2 separate regions of the Homo sapiens genome follow, and region 2 is linked to region 1. The links are contacts of gene promoters, found by promoter capture Hi-C in blood cells and fetal thymus (Javierre and others, 2016). All regions are on one chromosome and are shown on one strand. The core of a region is centred on a gene start or on the middle of the fragment in contact, and the rest is flanking DNA. Distances in the headings are between cores, read along the strand shown.

The links. Contacts are between HindIII fragments. The CHiCAGO score rates a contact against its expected background, and 5 or more counts as called.
Region 2: a contact is called between a fragment that was not itself captured here and the fragment with the promoter of MOB3B in region 1, in 5 of 17 cell types (total B cells, monocytes, naive B cells and 2 more). The highest score is 12.8, in total B cells.

What each region holds. Positions count from the first base shown.
Region 1 is chr9:27,526,684-27,533,579 of GRCh38, forward strand. MOB3B (MOB kinase activator 3B) reads right to left here and starts at 3,131. Exons shown (of 4, transcript NM_024761.5): 1 at 2,872-3,131. LOC124902107 (dapper homolog 3-like) reads left to right here and starts at 1,773. Exons shown (of 2, transcript XM_047424279.1): 1 at 1,773-2,043; 2 at 2,337-4,017. The coding sequence starts at 1,773. The coding sequence ends at 3,325. RefSeq lists silencers at 1,859-1,908, 2,879-3,178. The HindIII fragment of the contact is 3,596 bases long and covers 867-4,462 here.
Region 2 is chr9:27,414,911-27,421,760 of GRCh38, forward strand. The region is part of intron 2 of MOB3B (MOB kinase activator 3B); the gene reads right to left. Among named protein-coding and RNA genes, the nearest start is that of IFNK, 110 kb to the right of the region's middle. The HindIII fragment of the contact is 8,611 bases long and covers 1-6,850 here.

The DNA of each region.
Region 1 (6,896 bases), core at 1,881-4,380:
AAAAGAAAAAGGATAACATCTCCACTGGAAAAAAGGCAAGGGCACAAACTGACATCATCACAAAGGAAGAAATACTACAGACAATGTGAAAAATGTTTAATCTAACTTGATTTTTAAATGCAAAATAAGATGACAAGATACTCCCATCAGTATGACAGAAAAGAAAAAGAATGACAATATAAAATGTGAGTGGAGTGTAAGGTATAGGAGCCTTTGTGCATTACTGGGAGGAAAGTAAACTGGGACATGTTTTCTACAGGGAAATATGGCAATCTTCAATATCCTAAAGAACGCATCAGCCCCTGTGACCTAGGTATCACGTCTTCCGAAATTTATTCCAAGGAAATAGGTTTATGATATCTCCCCCTTTTACATTCATTTTCACCATTCGATATTTTCTATTTTTTCCTATAGTGATTTTTTTGGGAAGATTTTTAATTCTAAAAGAAACTGTACAAGCTTAACTTCCACTATAATTACCCTGTTTTCCTTAGCGGGGTAGGCCAAGACAAGAAATGCTCTTTTATTTTGTTAATGATGCCTTTGGGTACTTCTTGAGTAACTTTGGTCTTTTTTGTTGCTTCTGGGTTGCTGCTGCTAAATTTCAAAGGAATCCTTCCTTGGGGATCATTTTCATAATGAAATGTTTGTAAAGTGCCTTGCAGTACTTCAAAGATGTTGCTTTTTTTTCTTTTCCTGGTTCCACCGTTGGGAAGGTAAAGAGATATAATACCCAGAAATCACTAGAGAAAGTGCTCTATGTGTCGCATTCCTGGCTTAGCAGTCTCACTTCTTTTATGTTAAATGGAAACTCAAAAGTTCTGTTGAGTTCGCAAAGGGAAAACTCTCAGAGCTGTGCAGAGCCAAGCTTCTGGTATCCACTGACAATGTCTGAGTGGGTACATAGATCATAATGTTCCTACAGAAGCCTCTTTCTTCCCCTGGGTTGAGGAGGAATCAAAAGTGTAATTGAGCTTCCTTGGAAGAGGGACTCATTGGGGATCCCACAGGAAAAGCTGGCAACAGCAAGTCAACTGCAAGGCTATGGGGTAGCATAGGTTCTAACAGGTGCACAGTCTCAGTCAGCCTCCCCTCAGAGGCAAGACAACTCGCTGGGCACCATCTGGGGACCCTGACTTCTCAGAGTAGCTACTTTGCTTTTGCCCCAGTTCTTTAATCAATAATCCACACTAAGAATGAACACAATGTGTAAGCATCTGACTTGTGCAGGGAAACAGGGCCGCCTGCAACCCAACAAGCGCACCCACAGGGGAACTCGGGACCATCCTAAGCCACTTGTTCTCTGGGACGTGGAAGCAGGAACTGTGCTCTAGCCGTATCTGTGTTGCGTCGTCTGAGTCCTCTTTTTCTACAATGAAGAAAGGGGACTTGGGATTTAAACTTGGAGCGGTACTCAAAGCCAGAACTCCACGTTCATTCCGGAGTGAACCACCACACTACTATTTCCAGGCAACGTCATAAGGCTTCCTCGTTATTTGCATCTTCGTTCTCTTTTTGGCGACTAGCCTGCCCTCCCGCCCTTGGAAACTTGTGGACCCCAGAATCTCAGCTTTCCGCCTACCAAAGGTGCCCCGATCCCCTCCCACTGCCCTAGCAGCGGCCCAGCCCCAACGCCTTTGGCTAGAGATTGAAATCCTCTGGAACCAACCACTGGACGCTCTGGATTGGGGCGGAACGCGCTTCCACTGTCTCGAAAGCAGCACCTTCTCGGATTTGAGCCTTTGCGGCGCGCCTGGGCTGAGATCTGAGAAATGCGCCCTGGGCCACAGGCAGCAGCGGAGGCGGGGAAGGAACAACTTTCCCTCCGCCCTCTAACCACAAGGGCGGGGTGGGGCGGCCTCGCTGGGGTCGGGCTCCTCCACTTTCCCAGCTGGGATCCCCTGCCGGAGCTGGCGTGGGGGCCGGGGAGGGGGACCAGAGGGGCTTCCTTCTCTCCCCAAGCCCCGCCAGATGTTGGAAAGGCAAACAATAGGGGAAACGCGGAGAAACAAAAGGCCATTCGCCACGATCTCAGTCGGCTGCGTAGAGAGATCTCTGTGGGGAGGGTTAGGGGAGAGGGTCAGGAAAGAGCGCGAGGGGGGGGATCCCGAGAGATTTAGAGTCTCTGGTACTTGCCAGGCACCAGGGGTCGGCGCTTTACCCTCCCAGCAGGGGTCTGAAGGTGGGAAGGGGCAATCAAAGAAAACTTGAAGGGTTTTCACCTTCTTCCCCAGTTCAGGGAAAGGGAGGGGCTGGGATTCCAGATGTTTGACAGTTGTTGGCCCCAAAGTTAAGCGCGATTTGTACGGCCTTTACACGCTCCCCACCTCCGTGAGGCATCGTCAGCCCCGGGGGCGACCTGGCTGACGGTGCGGACTTCCCCTACGCTGCCCCAAGCCGAGACTCCTCCCTCAGGATCAGGACGCCCAAGCGTTGTCCCCCAGCCCAGGCGCACTTTTGTAAAAGTTTGTCTTCCCGCCACCCACAGCCCAACACGCACCCTGCAGGCGTCCGCGGCTGGGGATGGGCTCGGAGTCTTGCACCCCGAAAGAAGGACGATCTTATTGATTTATATCTTTTCAAATCAAGGACAAATCAAGATCCCGGGGTGGAAAGTGGGCGACCCTTGTTCCTGCCGGGAAGTGCACACGAGGAGCCGGCCAGAAACCCAGGCGCCGGCAGGGGTCTGAAGAGGACTCCAGCCCCGGAAGCCCGTGGCCGGCGGGCAGAAGACCGGTCCGCCGCCTCCCGCACCTTCTTGCACCCGCGCCCAGGTGCGCCCCAAACCTCGCCGCCCGCCCGGGCGAGATCGGGAGCGAGCAGCCACCGGGCTGCGCCGCCTCCCCTAGCTTGGAGCGGGTTCTTACTCACCGTGGGGTTTTACCTCCAGCCCAGGGCCCGGTCGGCTCCCTTCGCCGGGTCAGCTGCAGCCAGCGCGAAAGAAAATGGTGAGCTCGGGGCAGGTGGGGCGTCGCTTGCCAATCCACGCAAGGGACTCTGCCGCCGGTGCGCGAGGTCCCGGCGAGCCAACCGGCGGACGGGCGAGCGCCTGGCTCCAGCTGCAGCCGCCGTCGCTCCGGAGCAGCCCCCTCATGCACCCAGCGCGCCGCGCAGCCGGCCGGGGCTCGACTGTCTCGCGGGGACGCCGAGCGGGGACCCCTGGCGGCCGCCTGCGGTATGGCAGCACCGTGGAGAGAAAAGTCGTCTTTGGGATCATCTTCCCTCCGGAAAGAGATGGGACATGACCAGTCTAAGGGGGCTTCCAGCCTTGCAGAAAAGACACTGGGCCAGGGCAGTGAAGAAGGTGTCAGATCAGAAAGGATGATCTCTGGGTCCACAACGGCCACTTCCAAGGCACCTAGAGAGGGGGAAACAGTTTGCCTTCCCCAGGATTTTCTGATTGTTGAAAAATACCATGAACTGCCTGACACAGAGCGGAGCATAAATCATTGGAAAATACTCAGATTCTAGTGGATTTACTAGAACACACTGGGAGTCATGGATGAACCTGGATTTTAAAGCTCAACCCACAGCCCGCCACTCTCTACTTGTGTGGTCTTGGTCTATCTACAACCTTAAAGCCTCAGTATTCTCCTCCGTAAATTGGCGGGGAGCAATATCACCCTTGCAGGGTGATGGTTACGGGTAAACTACATTTGAAACGTTTTTATAGTTTATAGTAACAGAAATCAAATATGAGCTTCCTGCCTTCTGGAGAAAAAGAATTGGATCTTTCACATTTTTCTATTACCCATATGATCACATCTTAATGCATATTGATTGAACTGTACCAAATGACGAAGTACTGCATTTTACCATTCTTACTACACACTTCAAAGAGGTGTGGAAATATATTAAGTAGAAATTAGGATATATAGAGAAAACATCCCTCCTCCAAAAGAGGTTTCTGCAACTAACTACGAAGTGAGAACTTCTAAAATCACTTACATCTTTTGCAATATCATCTCAGATATTGTAAGAAACATTTAATAAATAGTCATGACTTAATGATATCAACCCTGGATTAAATGACTCTAATTCTGTGTCACTTTTGTGTAATGTAAAGATACCGATTGTGAATATAAGACTCAAATATGGGAAAACTGCCAGATACAAAAATACAGCCGCTAAGCAATATTTCTGTTCATCACCGAGGAATCTCATTTCCAAAGTGCCCCAGTTTTTAAGAGGAAGAACACCAGAGTCAGACAGACCCATAGCAGCTGAGTCTAACCTTTCTGAAGCTCTGTTACCTCATCTTATAAAATGAGGATAATATAGGTAGCTGTCATTCAATGAAGGAATGCATACAACATGCTTAGCATAACACCTGTCACATGGTAAGTGCTCCAGGGTCACCACCTATCATTGTTTCCAGCATACAGTTATCACCCCACCGACATGTAGCCCCTCCCTCATGAGCTCAAGAGCCCCCAGCACGTGTTCTACTCACACACGCACAAGCTTCAGTGTCCCTTAAGATGTTATCTCCTGGAAAGTAGGAACAGAAAGAGAATATTTTCAGGTAGTTTGGAACAGAATGAATAACATTCACATTCCTTGCCCAAGTCAGTACAGATTAATTTCCATCATTTCCAACTCATACTTTATACATTTCCCATAAGAGGAAAATCATGCTGGTTTTCAGTAGCATATGAAAAAAAAAAAATTCCAAGAGGATTCTTTTGCCAAGCCACTTCATTACAGCTTCCCCTTAGAGGATACCAAAGAAGCACAGGGATATTGGAAAGGTGTCACCATAGCAACATTGTAATAGACAGATGACAATAGAGTAAAAGCGAAGAAAGCACATTTGCATAGTCATTGACAAACTTGGACCTACAGTCATATTGCTCTGGGCAGCAGTGCTCAGAGTCCAAGGGCTACTCAAAGTAAATTTGGTAAGAGGCTATTTCTATTCATTTTGGCTGAGTCTGACTACCCAGTTCATTGTGCTCATGTGTGTGCTAATTGTAATTGTTACAGGCAGTTCACTAACAAACAGCAGACATCCTCAAGAGTCCCTTTCATCCTAAGCAATGTGAGTTCACAAATCTAAATGTGTACCTAATAAATCTTCAATAGTAAAGCGTACTTCCTCCTTACCTGCTTCTGTTTTGTTTTCAAAACCTTAAATAGTCACAGGTATAGAGAAATTGTCTCAATGCTTATGGGAGCTTCTGTGATAACTTATGTTAATTAACTCTGGGTACTGAAAAGAAACAAACGTGCATGGCTTCCCCTAAGCACTGAGGTAATGGCAATTCAAATAACAGCAAATTTATATATGTGATATACACAGATTTATATATATATAAATATATCACATATAGATATATAAGAAGACATCATATATATATACACACACATTTTAGAGATCATATATATCTTTTAAGCAATTTCAAACCATACAAGAATCCATATATGATCTTAAGGCATAATTTCTGCCAGCATACTTCTCAACATTTATAATGACACTAAATGTCTATAGTCGTTTCCTCTGAAATGCACATTACATCAATCCCTTTTTGTGAAAGTGGAACTAAGGCATAAAAAGGTCAGAGTTCAGGAGCTGGGAAGAACATATGACAGTGTTCAAAGTTGTTTCAGTGACAGCTGAACAAGATAGTGTCATGTGGAATCATAATGGACAATTATCTGCTTTCTGGTCTATAGGAATAGAGTGAGTGTTCTTTCCCAAGTTTAAAAAAAAATTATTGAAAAGAGACTGTACTCTTTCTTCCTGCTCTTAGAATCTGTTTTGTTTATAGTGACCCAATGCTCCTTCATATCTATCAGATGGTATTTTTTTCTTATTTAAAAATACCCATGTGGTTGAGGCTGCAGTGAGCTATGATTGCACCACTGCACTCTAACCTGGGCAATGAGACCCTGTCTCAAAAAAAAAAAAAAAAAATAGTTTGTATCCTTAATAAGCGACCCTTCTTCTCAAGAGATGAGCCTGATGTTTCTGTCTGGCTTAACATTAGCCAGGTGTGGTACACTTGTGATCTGCCTCAGTATTCTGAGTAATGGAGAGGAGTTCTCTCACTGTGAAACAGGTCAACTTAGATACGATCCAAAAAGGGTTAGTTGCCAGGAGAACCAAAGTCTAAGGTAGTCATATCTACAAGCCCATAGCCTGGACCCCCAAATTAATCCTACAGTGAGACTTTAGCACCTTTCACAAGTGGAGAAATCAGACCACTGTGTGCTCAATGGGTTTGGAATGTTGTGCTTTCAAAGTAATTAATACAGAAAGGCATAGAAAGATAGAGAAGAGACTAGTGACTCATGGATGCTTCCAACGTGATATAACGCCCCTTTCTCTTCTAAATAGTAAAATAATGAAGATCTCAAAGAGACTTTCTCTCTTTGAGAAACACAGCTTTACTGCTTTTGTGATCAATGCCCACTGCCCTCACCAACAAATCAGTCATTAATTCCCAACTGCCTTGCATTGCAAATATAGAAAAAAAGGTTTTTGGATCTCCTTAGCTCTCTTTGAATGTCTATAGGAAAGAAATGAAGGAAGTAAACTTTTCTACTGCCAGACTGAAGGTAGATTTTGATAAACTTGGAACCTCTCCAAATCACCCTCTACCCTCCTGGCATAGAAAATAAACAAGATTTTTCCCTTTACATCATAATTAAGGAAAGAGACAAAAATGAAGGTATCATCCAACCTGATCTTCTTTAGCCTCTAGCTGTTCTAACGACACAGAACTATTTTCTCAAGATTCCAATTAGGTTTGCTATACTGCTCAATATTAATTTCCTCTTAAGAAGCTACTTCACCATTTGGAAAGCCCCTTGGGTTGAATAATTATTGAATTTCTAAATGGCCTCTGGCTAGCCTCAATTGCATGAGTGTTTCATGTACAGTAAGTAATATG
Region 2 (6,850 bases), core at 2,161-4,660, 110 kb before region 1:
GAGTGCAGTGGTGCGATCTTGGCTCACCACAACCTCCGCCTCCGGGGTTCAAACAATTCTCCTGCCTCAGCCTCCCGAGTAGCTGGGATTACAGGTGTGCACCACCATGCCTGGCTAATTTTTGTATTTTTAGTAGGGACGGGGTTTCACCATGTTGGCCAGGCTGGTTTCAAACTCCTGACCTCAGGTGATCTCCTGCCTCAGCCTCCCAAAGTGCTAGGATTACAGGTGTGAGCCACCACGCCCAGCCCTCTAACCAGATTTTAAAATCCTATGGAATAAAGGAATTTTTAGAAGATGGCTTTATGGGTGTGCATAATATGTAAAGACAAATATGACAGTTTCTCTCAAACATAGGTTAAAAGTGAAATGGTACTGTTTGCTTTTAGAAAAATTATAAAATATGATTTAATTAATGTCAATTTCCTGCCTCTGAAGATGGCTCTAAAGTTATATAATACACTAACATTAGCAGAAGCTGGGTGAATGATATATGGGAACTATGTACTTTTTTTTTTTAGAACTTATCTGTAAGTCTAAAGTTATTTTCAATTATAAAACATAAGAAAAAATAGGAATTGGAGTCTCTGAGTCTTCCCATTCATTATTCTTCTCTGTGAAAGTGTTCTTTCCCGTAAAAAAATTAATCTGGTCAATTTTAGATGGGATTATTAAAAAATAAATGAGAGGCACTTACATTTTATATCAGTGTAAATTTTGCGTTAATTGTCTCAACAGGCTAGCAGAGCCCCATCAGCTAACTGTGTGAGAAAAATCCTCATTTCTCACTTCCAAATGGAAAAGGTCCTAGCTAATTTCAATGGATTTGGCTTTAGATCTAAAAACAACTGCATCCTCTGGGGATGACCAAGCAGATGTGTAAGTGTCCCCTTAACTGAAGAGCTGTTGCTGAGGAAAATAAAATTTCATCACATCTGGTTCTAAACTGCAATACGAGTGGATTTTATCACTCATATAGATTTCAATATGGGGTTTCGTGCGTGTATTTATTTAGTTAGTTCACACAGACATATGATTAGATTTGCTTTTCACATGCTTTCACCCCTGGATTATCTGTAGGTAATCCTAAAAGGAAAAACATTCAAACTTTGTTGGTATCTGGGCTTGCAATATGTTTTTGTCCTCTCATTGCATGATAAAAAATGTATTTGGGGTTAATACAATTTCCTGATTGATAAAATGATTTTGCAGCATATACAAGTATTATTGAATTCTGAATAACTACAGTTTAATAAACTCATGGAAAAGGTTTGGCTATTGCAGTTAAGCATAAAGATTTCCCTTCATGATCTCGTAGGACCTCATACCTTAAGTATAGGTATGCTTAAGGATCAGTTAACAAGAGAAATCTAGTAAGTGGCATATCAGGGAAAAAAGAGCTTTTCTTTGAAATGGCAATAGTAGAGGGACTTCAGAGAATCTGGTCTAATCTCCACGTTTGGGATTTTTAGGAAGTTTAAAATGGCTGGTGCTTAATTTGATGGAGGGGTGGGCTGCTAGATTCCTTTGACAACCTGAAAAAGCTATAGATATTCTACCTATAAAACACATTCTTAAAGACTTTAGATATCATTTGGAGGTTCTGTGGAACCCCTGGAGTAATTTCTTTTTAATTTTTTTTTTTTTTTTTTTTTTTTTTGAGATAGGGTCTTGCTCTGTCATCTAGTCTGGAGTGGAATGCCTTGACCTCCTGGGCTCAAGTGATCCTCCTGCCTCACCCTCCCAAGTAGCTAGGACTACAGGCATGATGTACCACCATGCCCAGCCAATTTTTAAGTTTTTTTTGTAGAGGCAGGATCTTGCTATGTTGCCCAGGCTGGTCTTAAACGTCTGGCTTTAAGTAATCCTCCTGCCTCAGCCTCCTGAAAAGCTGGGATTACCGGCATGAGCCACCACGGCTAGCTCATCTTTCCTTTGCTTTTCTTCGTAAAACAGAACAAAAGATAGCCACCACTCCACGTCTGTAAATGTGCTTATGACTACTAGAATAAGCAGGGGACACCTGTTACCGTTAGTTACATCTGGAGTTTAGAACTGGTGTGCGATTGAAGGGGAGAAAGAAACAATGTTATTGGGATTTTAGACACCTGGGATTGCTTAAATTATTACCATGAAGATACAGGATGTATTACTTTTAAAACTCAAATGCCGGCAGGGTGCAGTGGCTCACGCCTGTAATCCCAGCACTTTGGGAGGCCGAGGCAGGTGGATCACGAGGTGAGGAGATCGAGACCATCCTGGATAACACCGTGAAACCCCGTCTCTACTAAAAAATACAAAAAATTAGCCAGGCGTGGTGGCGGGCACCTGTAGTCCCAGCAACTCGGGAGGCTGAGGCAGGAGAATGGTGTGAACCTGGGAGGCGGAGCTTGCAGTGAGCCGAGATTGCGTCACTGTACTCCAGCTTGGGCGACAGAGCGAGACTCCGTCTCAAAAACAAAAGGAAACAAAACAAACAAACAAACAAACAAACAAAACGTCAAATGCCTGAAATGCATACATGAGAGGGAAAGAAAAAGAGAGACACCCTGTGCTTTAAATGGAACAATAAAGTTTCCTTTGAGTGATCTTATTACAGCTCCTCTGCTCACAGCCTCCCTGTGCCCAGCTCCAGGAATCAACAATTCTCTTCCTTGGGATTTAAAAAAACACTTTCTAAGCCTCTCAGCTTCTGCTGAGAATCCCCAAGGGAAAAGAAAAACAAAAATGCTAGTACTTTGGACTCTAGCAGCAAAGGGATGGTGAAAAAAACCACCGTTTATTGAGGACTCACAAGTACTTTACATACATGAGCTCATGTGATCTTTACACCAACCCTCTGGGGTTAGAAAATAGAAACACAACCCTTTGGCCGGGTGCGGTGGCTCACGCCTGTAATCCCAGCACTTTGGGAGGTCGGGGCCGGTGGATCACAAGGCCAAGAGATCGAGACCATCCTGGCCAACTTGGTGAAACCCTTAGTACAACTTGGTGTACACTTAGTACAACTTGGTGTACTAAAAATTCAAAAATTAGCTGGGTGTGGTGGCACACGCCTGTGGTCCCAGCTACTTGGGAGGCTGAGGCAGGAGAATAGCTTGAACCTGGGAGGCGGAGGTTGCAGTGAGCTGAGATCACACCATTGCACTCCAGCCTGGGAGACAGGGTGAGACTCCACCTCAAAAAAAAAAAAAAAAAAAAAGTAATACAACCCTCTTAGCTTAAATCAGGAAGAATTAGAAACCCTCAATAGACCAAAAACAAGCAGCGAGATTGAAATGGTAACTTAAAAATTATCAAAACAAATGTCCAGGACCAGACAGATTCACAGCAGAATTCTACCAGACATTCAAAGAAGAATTGGTACAAATCCTTTTGACACTATTTTGCAAGATAAAGAAGGTACCCTCCCTAATTCACTCTATGAAGCCAGCATCACCCTAATACCAAAACCAGGAAAAAATATAACCAAAAAAGAAAACTACAGACCAATATCCCTGATGAACATAGATGCTAAAATCCTTAAAAAAAATACTAGCTAACCAAATCCAACAACATATCAAGAAGATAATCCACCACGATCAAGTGGGTTTCATACCAGAGATACAGGGATGGTTTAACATATGCAAGCCAATAAATGTGATACACATAAACAGAATTAAAAACAAAAATCATATGATCATCTCAATAGATGCAGAAAAAGCATTTGACAAAATCCAGCATCTCTTTATGATTAAAACTCTCAGAAAAATCAGCATACAAGGGATATATCTTAATGTAATAAAAGCCATCTATGACAAATCCACAGCCAACATAATACTGAATGGGGAAAAGTTGAAAACATTCCCTCTGAGAACTGGAACAAGACAAGAATGCCCACTCTCACCACTCCTCTTCAGACAAGAGAAAGAAATAAAGGCCATCCAAATCGGTAAAGAAGAAGTCAAACTGTCACTGTTTGCTGACAATGTGATCGTTTACCTTGAAAACCCTAAGGACTCCTCCAGAAAGCTCCTAGAACTGATAAAAAAAAATTCAGCAACATTTCTGGATACAAGATTAATGTACACAAATCAGTAGCTCTTCTATACACCAACTGCGACCAAGCGGGGAATCAAATCAAGAACTCAACCCCTTTTACGATAGCTGCAAAAAAAAAAAAAAAAGACTTAGTAACATACCTAACCAAGGAGTCGAAAGACCTCTACAAGGAAAACTACAAAACCCTGCTGAAAGAAATCATAGATGACACAAACATATGGAAACTCATCCCATGCTCATGGATGGGTAGAATCAACATTGTGAAAATGAACACACTGACAAAGGAAATCTACAAATTCAATGCAATTCCCATCAAGATACCACCATCATTCTTCACATAATTAGAAAAAACAATTCTAAAATTCATATGAACCAAAATAAGAGCTCACATAGCCAGGGCAAGACTAAGCAAAAGAACAAATCTGGAGGCATCACACTACCTGATTTTAAACTATACCATAAGGGCATAGTCACCAAAACAGTGTGGTACTGGTATAAAAATAGGCACATACACCAATGGAACAGAATAGAGAACCAGAAATGAACCCAAATACTTACAGCCAACCGATCTTCAACAAAGCAAACAGAAACATAAAGTGGGGAAAGGACACCCTTTTCAACAAATGGTGCTGGGATAATTGGCTAGCCACAAGTAGGAGAATGAAACTGGATCCTCATCTCTCGCCTTATACAAAAATCAACTTAAGACGGATTAAAGACTTAAACCTAAGACCTGAAACTATAAAAATTCTAGAAGATAACATTGGAAAAAGCCTTCTAGCCATTGGCTTAGGCAAGATTTCATGACCAAGAACCCAAAAGCAAATGCAATAAAAACAAAGACAAATAGCTGAGACCTAATTAAACTAAAGAGCTTTTGCACGAAAAAAGGAACAGTCAGCAGAGTAAATAGAAAACCCACAGAGTGGGAGAAAATCTTCACAATCTATACATCTGACAAAAGACCAATATCCAGAATCTACAACAAACTCAAACAAATTAGTAAGAAAAAAACAAACAATCCCTTGAAAAAGTGGGCTAAGCACATGAATAGACAATTCTCAAAAGAAGATACACAAATGGCCAACAAACATGAAAAAAAATGTTCAACATCACTAATGATCAGGGAAATGCAAATCAAAACCACAATGCAATACCACCTTACTCCTGCAAGAATGGCCATAATAAAAAAATCAAAAAAGAGTAGATTTTGGCATGGATGCAGTGATCAGGGAACCCTTCTACACTGCTGGTGGGAATGTAAACTAGTACAGGCACTATGGAAAACAGTGTGGAGATTCCTTAAAGAACTAAAAGTAGAACTACCATTTGATCCAGCAATCTCACTACTGGGTATCTACCCAGGGGAAAAGAAGTCATTATTCGAAAAAGATATTTGCACACACATGTTTATAGCAGCACAATTCACAATTGCAAAATTGTGGAACTAACCCAATTGTCCATCGATCAACGAGTGGATAAAGAAACTATGATTATATATATATATTCCATCTACATATTCCATCTATATATTTCATATATATTCCATCTATATATTCCATCTATATTCCATCTATATATTCCATCTGTATATTCCATATATATATATATATATATATATATATATATATATATATATATATATGGAATACTACACAGCCATAAAAAGGAATGAATTAACAGCATTTGCAGTGACCCGGATGAGATTGGAGACTATTATTCTAAGTGAAGTAACTCAGGAATGGAAAACCAAAGGTCATATGGTCTCACTGATATGTGGGAGCTAAGCTATGAGGATGCAAAGGCATAAGAATGATACAACGGACTTCAGGGACCTGGGGGGAAGAGTGGGAGGGGGACAAGGGATAAAAGACTTCAAATATGGTGCAGTGTATACTGCCCAGGTAATGGGTGCAGCAAAATCTCACAAATCACCACTAAAGAACTTACTCATGTAACCAAATACCACCTATACCTCAATAACTTATGGAAAAAAAGAAAATAGAAAGGTCAGTAACATCTTCCACTGACCCAGAGCTTGACAACAGCAATGATCACATCTGTATTGGGAGGCCTTTACCATCCATGAGGGGTAACCTTGCACCCACCTTCTCCCTACATGGAAGAGCGGTATTCTCACCTCCATTTTTTTTTTTCAGACGGAGTTTCGCTCTTGTTGCCCAGGCTGGAGTGCAATGGTGCAAACTCAGCTCACTGAAACCTCCGCCTCCCGGGTTCAAGCGACTCTCCTGTCTCAGCCGCCCAAGTAGCTGGGATTACAGGCACATGCCACCACGCCCGGCTAATTTTTGTATTTTTAGTGGAGATGGGGGTTTCATCATATTGGTCAGGCTGGTCTCAAACTCCTGACCTCAGGTGATCTGCCTGCCTCGGCCTCCCAAATTGCTGGGATTACAGGCGTGAGCCAACATGCCCGGCCACTCTCACCTCCATTTTATAGGCAAAGAATTGAGGCACACAGCCCTAGAGTGAGTTAAGTGAGAGTAGCATAAAGTGCAGGTCTTTTTGCTCACCTTGGGTGCTCCTTTCAAACCACGCAGTTCTCTACAAAGCAGCCAGAGTAGTTCTTTTAAAACACCAGGCCGGGGGGCGGGGGTTACTTCACATTTCTGCTGAAAATCCTCAACTGGTTTCTCGTCATCCTCAGAATAAAGTCCCAAAACCTTACTGTGGCCTCACATAATTTGTCTACCTCCAACTTCCTCCATTTCCACACTCCAGCTGCACTGGCCTCCTTGCTAGTCCTCACACATTCCAAATGTGGTTCCACCCCAGAACCTTGGTATTC